Linked DNA regions of Homo sapiens: region 2 is linked to region 1. Evidence: promoter capture Hi-C in human tissues and cell types (Jung and others, 2019). All regions are on one chromosome and are shown on one strand. The core of a region is centred on a gene start or on the middle of the fragment in contact, and the rest is flanking DNA. Distances in the headings are between cores, read along the strand shown.

Region 1 (3,333 bases), core at 735-3,234:
CTCCTGAGATCCTGAAGCCAATCTGGTAGATCCAATCAGTAGTCTAGAGGAGACGAGGGCTGGAGAAAGATCAGGGAATGCAGGGGGATGGGACTGAAAGTTGAGTTAAGGAATGGGGTTCTTGGGAGGGGTTAGGAGCCTGGGAGGAGATGTGTAGAGGGATAGGGGAAGACTGAAGGAGTTTGGGGGAGAAAATATGGGGAAGTTATTGGAGGGTCTTGAGAGAGGGTGTTAGGAGGTGACACTATTAGAGGCTGGAGAAATTAGTTGCGAGTACAGACTCTACGAAGGCAAGAGGGACAAAGCAGAGACCACCAGGTAGGGGTCTAAAAGAGAAGGAAAACAGGATAATATAACAGAAGAGGGTGAAGGCTGGGAGGGGAACTAAAGCCGAGAATGAGATGGGGAGAGTGTTACAAGGCAACTTGGGGACAGGATGGAGGTTGATGCAATCGGGAAAGCTTCAAGGGATAGAATGGTGGTCTAAGATCTAGAGAAGAGGCAGGGAGTGGGATGGGGTCTTACCTGAAGATTGCAAGGCAGAAGGACCAGAGGATGAGAGGCCCTTGCAGGTTGAAGCCCTTGCGTTCCTTCATGTAGTTCTGCCCCACAGCGATGAGAACCAGGTAGATCAGGGCTATGGGGAATGAGGTTGCCCTGGCAAGCAGAAGGCAGAGGGATGGGCTCATGGGTGGGTGCTGATTAGAGAAATGCCCACTCATCTCTCCAGGTGAGTGCTCTGGGTTGGAGTCCCAGTTCTGCCACTTACTAGCTATGTGACATTGGAAAAACCAACTTAATTCTCTGAGCCTTGGCTTCCTCATTTGTAGAGCGCGAATACTACATCTCTCCTGGGGGTATTAACGTATACAAAGTATCTAGCACAGGGCAGGAGCTATGTCCAAGGTTTCTGTGATTATTGCTCTCTCAGTGGGGTTAGAGGTGGGTGACGGCTGTCTGGCCCGCGCCTAGAAGCAGCCCAGGGCTGTGGTGTAAGAAGTGTGGCAATAGCTTCTCCCTGGTTGGGGCTCCTAGAAGCATACCAGGGCTGTGGCGTAAGAAGAATGTGGCAATAGCTTCTCCCTGGCTGGGGTATGGCAAATTGGTTGGAGCATAAAGTCAGCCTCCAAAACCTCTGGGGAGCTTTAAGGCAAAGCCAGAGAGCTCTTCCTGGGGAAAGCTTGGAAGAGCTCTCTGACTTCGCCTCCTTCTCCACAGCAGGAACGGTGGAGCACCTGGGGAACGATGGGATAATTGTAAAGGGCAGGCTGTCCCCCGGGCCCTGCACTGTGCACACACGCGCGCACACACAGCCACAAAGGACGGGGAAGTCATCTAGTAAGGCTTCAGATCAACCTCACGCCTCCAAGACCCTTCTCACTACACGCTCTCTTTGACTTCTGTATATTTCCACGTTCTCCCTCATCCTCTTATTTCTGCTTGCTTGCTTTCAGCTCTAATCTCTTTGAGGTGCCACATACTACCTGCACCTCGGACAAAGGTAGTGTGAAGCCAGTACAAGGGAGTCCCATAACTCTGCTCTGTAAGAAAATCATTGTGGGCATTCAATGCCACCCCCTCGCGCCCCGGCCCCGGGGCCCTGGCATGGCCTTTCCCTCTCCCAAAGTCTCACCAATACTCCTCGAAAAAGGGCCTCATGTCCTTGGACAGCTCGAAGTTATAGGGCTGGAACAGCTGATTTACTTCATGTGAGACATTCATGGCTGTGACCATCTAGTTTTGCAGAAGTCAAGGTCCAAAGCTTGGAGGCGCTGGGTGAAAGGCTGGGGCTCCGAGGATGGCGTGAACCTCGGGGCGAGACGGAACAGAGCCGGGACAGAAGGAACTCCTGGGCAAAGGGAGGAGGGCGTCGAACCTAGGCATGTGCGCGGCGGCGCAGCCAGCTATCCCGGGCGCAGCCACTGCGATATATAACGCGGACTTGCAAAGCTGCCTGCCCGGGCTGGCGCGACCTCTTTCCTGCGCCCCGCCGCTATCCAATCTCGACCAAGATACGCCTCTGCTCCGCCCCTGGGACGCAGTCCGCATTCTGATTGGTCATACTCAAGGGCCCGCCTGCCAGGCGTTTCGCACACCCCGCCCCAAGTCCCGTCGTAGGCCATCGCCCGCCCACTTCCCCAGCCTTTTCTCCCGTAAAACGTCCACCCCATCCTGTGCGGCCTTGCGGGTTCCCTTGGAACTGTCAACCGTGGCCTTTGCCTCGGTTTGCTTTAATCTTGACCTGCTTAGCAGTGAAGAGAGAGGAAAGGTGTCCTTAGGCTTTGGTGCTCCCACCCAGAAATGGAGGCGTCAGTTTCCAGGCTCCCTGAGATCCTGGGAAACCCAGGCCTGTGATGAGCAAATACTAACCTGGGCAACGCAGAGCTTCTGTAGTCCCTTCCACCTCCTAGCTTCGAGTCTGCGGTTGTGAGTGGGTGGAAGGAGATGAATTTTAAGGAGTTTTATTGTTGAGGTTGTTGATGTTGATGTTTGGGTTGTTGAGGCTGTTGTGGTTTCTTTATAGTTTCCTGAATTCCTGAACTGCTCCAGACTGACAGTAATAACCATGGAGAGAGGAAATGGGGTCACCCTCTGGGCTTCTGGAATTATTGTCTTCAGGTTTCCTGGAGGCCTCTTAGGGTTTAGGGAGGGGGAGAGCCAGTGTATCTCCCCAAGGCCTGTTGTTTTCTCTCCCTAACCAAATCTACTTCTTTCTCGCCTGTGTAACCAGCCCCAAAGAAATAAATGTTCTAAAACTTTTAAAAGTTTTACTTGGCTGTCCCTTATTTCTTTCCTAGGTTTTATGAAAGCGAAGGAGAAATACAAGGCTTGAGGGCAGTTTGAGATAAGGTGGAAATTTGCAAAAAGTGCTAAGAAACATAGATATAAAATAATTAAAATCAAGATGTGGGTATAAATGGCTATGTGCAGTAAAGCTCTAGAGCCAGAGGATCCAAGTAGGAACCCCAGCTCTATTTCCTGAACCTCAGCCACTGTCTATGCGAGGGTGTAGTGGAAGTCCTATCAGTGCCATCTAAGTGACTCAAAAGTGCATCTCTTTGTCTCTGTACCTCATCACTTCTCACCTGGTCACGTTACCTGGTTGCACTGCCTCTTTCTCTAATACAGTGCTTCTGCTCTTCACTGCATTGCAATCAGAAAAGAGTTCCTATACCTGGCTGATTACCAGATTCCTGAGCCTCAACTGCAGAGATTCTGGTCCTATAGGTTGTCTCAGACTGTACTTGGAAAACCACTACTTTCTGTTTGCTCATCCAGAAAACAGCTCTGCTTTCCTGCTTAAAAACCTTCAGTGGTTCGGCCGGGCACGGT
Region 2 (3,054 bases), core at 36-2,535, 83 kb before region 1:
TTTAATAGGAATAATCTGAAAAACCAAAATCAGGAAAAACAAGGATAAGTAGGGCACATGTACAGCTTCAATTTCATCTTAGGAAGCTAGTTTGAAAATATAACCTCCTTTTGATCAATAGAACATGAGGCACGACTTTTCCCACTCTGTCAAGATTCTTTTGTCTTTTTCAGCTACTGACACTTTTTACTCTGACATCAAACAGTAAGAATAGACTTGCCTTGAAGGCGAAACATATGTACCCTATCACTTTTCCAATTCACCACTTCTACCAACAACAAATCCACCTAAATACCGTAACTATCCACATGGCTTCTTTCCAGTTCCATAATACCCAGTACAACTCTTCAAGCCCAACAGAAAAGATGAGGACTATATATGTTTAAAATACAGTTGGTTGTATTTTCCCTAAATTATACAAATGAAAACCAAGAACCAAAAAATGAGATTTTTCTACAACTTAGAAACCCAGACTATATTAACACTAGAATTGAAACTAATTTCTAGGACTAACTCAGCATCACTAAATTAGCTTCTGGTTAAAATTTTATGCCAACAGATCTAGAATGGGGAGAAAATTCAGGAGAAGAGTAAAACAAAATCTTACCTTTCATTCTACAACTAATAATGAATTAAATTCCAGATCCATAAACAAGGACACACAAAAATCATAACTAGGTTATGATTTAACTAAAAAACAAAGATGAAAACAAAACCCCAAACCAGCCTTATCTCAACAAATACAGTGCACAAGAATCTCCTCATCAGCTATGGGAGGTGAACAAGCAATATCTCACTTACAAATGAGAACAGTGAAGCAAAGCTTTAAAAAGCCACAAACTCAGCTTACTAAAGAAAAAGAACAAGCTTCACATTTACAACCTCTGGGGACTGACCCTGATGGGGTAAAAATCAGTATTACAGAAGAAATAGTAGACCTCCTTCTTGCCATTTCATTTTCGTGACCTTATACTCATTTCCCCAAAGGCCATCTTATTAGAGCTGATGACTAAAATAATTTACACACTTGCATCCACAGATTTAACATTTACTATTTCAGCTATTCAAGAGTGACTCTGAAGGAAGTCCCAAGACAAGCTGTAATTAATAACTTTTCTGAGACATGAGTTTGATTCCTGCTCTAAGGCTGATTGGTAGCAGTAAGTTGTTCACCTAGTGACTGGGCCTAGCTGATTACTCAGTTGTGCAAATTGAAGCCCTCTCTCCTCCATCAGCTCTAATAAGACAACACCATTAAGTGCATAACTCAATGAATTTTGCAAACCTAACCACTCATGTAGTCGGCACTCAGATCAAGACACAGAGCACTATTAGGACCCAGAAATCCCAATCATGACTTCTTCCAGTTGCAATCCCTCCAAAGATAATCATTATTCTAACTTCTTAAACCACTGATTTTCTCTGCCTGAACTTTACATAAATGGCATCATGAAGTAGAAGCTCCTTTGGTTTGGCTTCTTTTTTTTTTTAATTTTATTATTATTATACTTTAAGTTTTAGGGTACATGTGCACAATGTGCAGGTTAGTTACATATGTATACATGTGCCATGCTGGTGTGCTGCACCCATTAACTCATCATTTAGCATTAGGTGTATCTCCTAATGCTATCCCTCCCCCCTCCCCCTACCCCACAACAGTCCCCAGAGTGTGATGTTCCCCTTCCTGTGTCCATGTGTTCTCATTGTTCAATTCCCACCTATGAGTGAGAACATGTGGTGTTTGGTTTTTTGTCCTTGCGATAGTTTACTGAGAATGATGATTTCCAATTTCATCCATGTCCCTACAAAGGACATGAACTCATCATTTTTTATGGCTGCATAGTATTCCATGGTGTATATGTGCCACATTTTCTTAATCCGGTCTATCACTGTTGGACACTTGGGTTGGTTCCAAGTCTTTGCTATTGGGAATAGTGCCGCAATAAACATACGTGTGCGTGTGTCTTTATAGCAGCATGATTTATAGTCTTTTGGGTATGGATTGGCTTCTTTCACTCAATATTATGCTGGAGAAAGTCATCTGTGTTGTAAGATATTGTAGTTTACTAATTCTCATTTATTTATAGTATTCCACTATGAGAATTTTCACATTTTACTTATCCATTTTATTTCTGATGGAGATTTGGGCAGTTTCCTCTTTTTTTTTTTTTTTTTTAGCTTCTGTGAACAACACTGCTATAAACATTCTCATAAACATCTTTTGGTGAACATATATATGATTACCTGCTGGGCATATTCTTAGAAATGTAATTGCTGGCAAATCAGCTCTTGTAGATGCAGCCAGCTTTCCAATTTACCCTATTTACCCTTAGGGTATGAAAGTCTGAGTTACTCCACATCCTTGCTATCACTTGATATTGTGTATCTTTTTCATTTTTGCTATTTTGCTCTATGTGTAGTAGTATTCTATGGTGGTTTTGAAGTTCCCTAATGACTAATGAAGTTGAGCACCTTTTCTTATGTTTACTGATTATTTAGGTATCCTCTATTGTGAATGTCTGTTCAAGTCTTTCTCCCATTTTCCTACTGGGAAATCTGATTTTTTGTTTTTTTTGTTTTTTTTGAGACGGCGTCTTGCTCTGTCACTCAGTCAGGCTGGAGTGCAATGGCGCGATCTCGGCTCGTTGCAACTCTGCCTCCCGGGTTCACGCCATTCTGCTGCCTCAGCCTCCCCGGCAGCTGGGACTATAGGCACCCGCCACCACGCCCGGCTAATTTTTTTGTATTTTTAGTAGAGATGGGGTTTCCCTGTGTTAGCCAGGATGGTCTCAATCTCCTGACCTTGTGATCCGCCTGCCTTGGCCTCCCAAAGTGCTGGGATTACAGGCGTGAGCCACTGTGCCCAGCTGGGAAATCTGCTTTTTTCTTATTGATTTACACCGGTTCTCACAGGGACCTTTTTTTTTTTTTTTTGCCAAGGTTGGTGATTTGTGAACATCACTATAACAATTCCTTTCAAAAAGCAAAAATGTACTGTATTTCATATATGTCTCTATCATTCTGTAGTTAAAAAATTCAAACTCAGCTCATATT

What was found. The method cuts DNA at HindIII sites, captures the fragments that hold promoters and counts their contacts. A contact is called where the count stands out against the background at its distance.
Region 2: a fragment that was not itself captured here is called in contact with the fragment with the promoter of ELOVL3 in region 1 in 2 of the 25 tissues and cell types used here (IMR-90 fibroblasts and dorsolateral prefrontal cortex).

The regions. Positions count from the first base shown.
Region 1 is chr10:102,224,950-102,228,282 of GRCh38, reverse strand. ELOVL3 (ELOVL fatty acid elongase 3) reads right to left here and starts at 1,984. Exons shown (of 4, transcript NM_152310.3): 1 at 1,634-1,984; 2 at 526-657. The coding sequence starts at 1,734. RefSeq lists a silencer at 1,953-2,002. The HindIII fragment of the contact is 12,375 bases long and covers 1,472-3,333 here.
Region 2 is chr10:102,307,324-102,310,377 of GRCh38, reverse strand. The region is part of intron 3 of GBF1 (golgi brefeldin A resistant guanine nucleotide exchange factor 1); the gene reads right to left. Among named protein-coding and RNA genes, the nearest start is that of GBF1, 63 kb to the right of the region's middle. The HindIII fragment of the contact is 4,534 bases long and covers 1-3,054 here.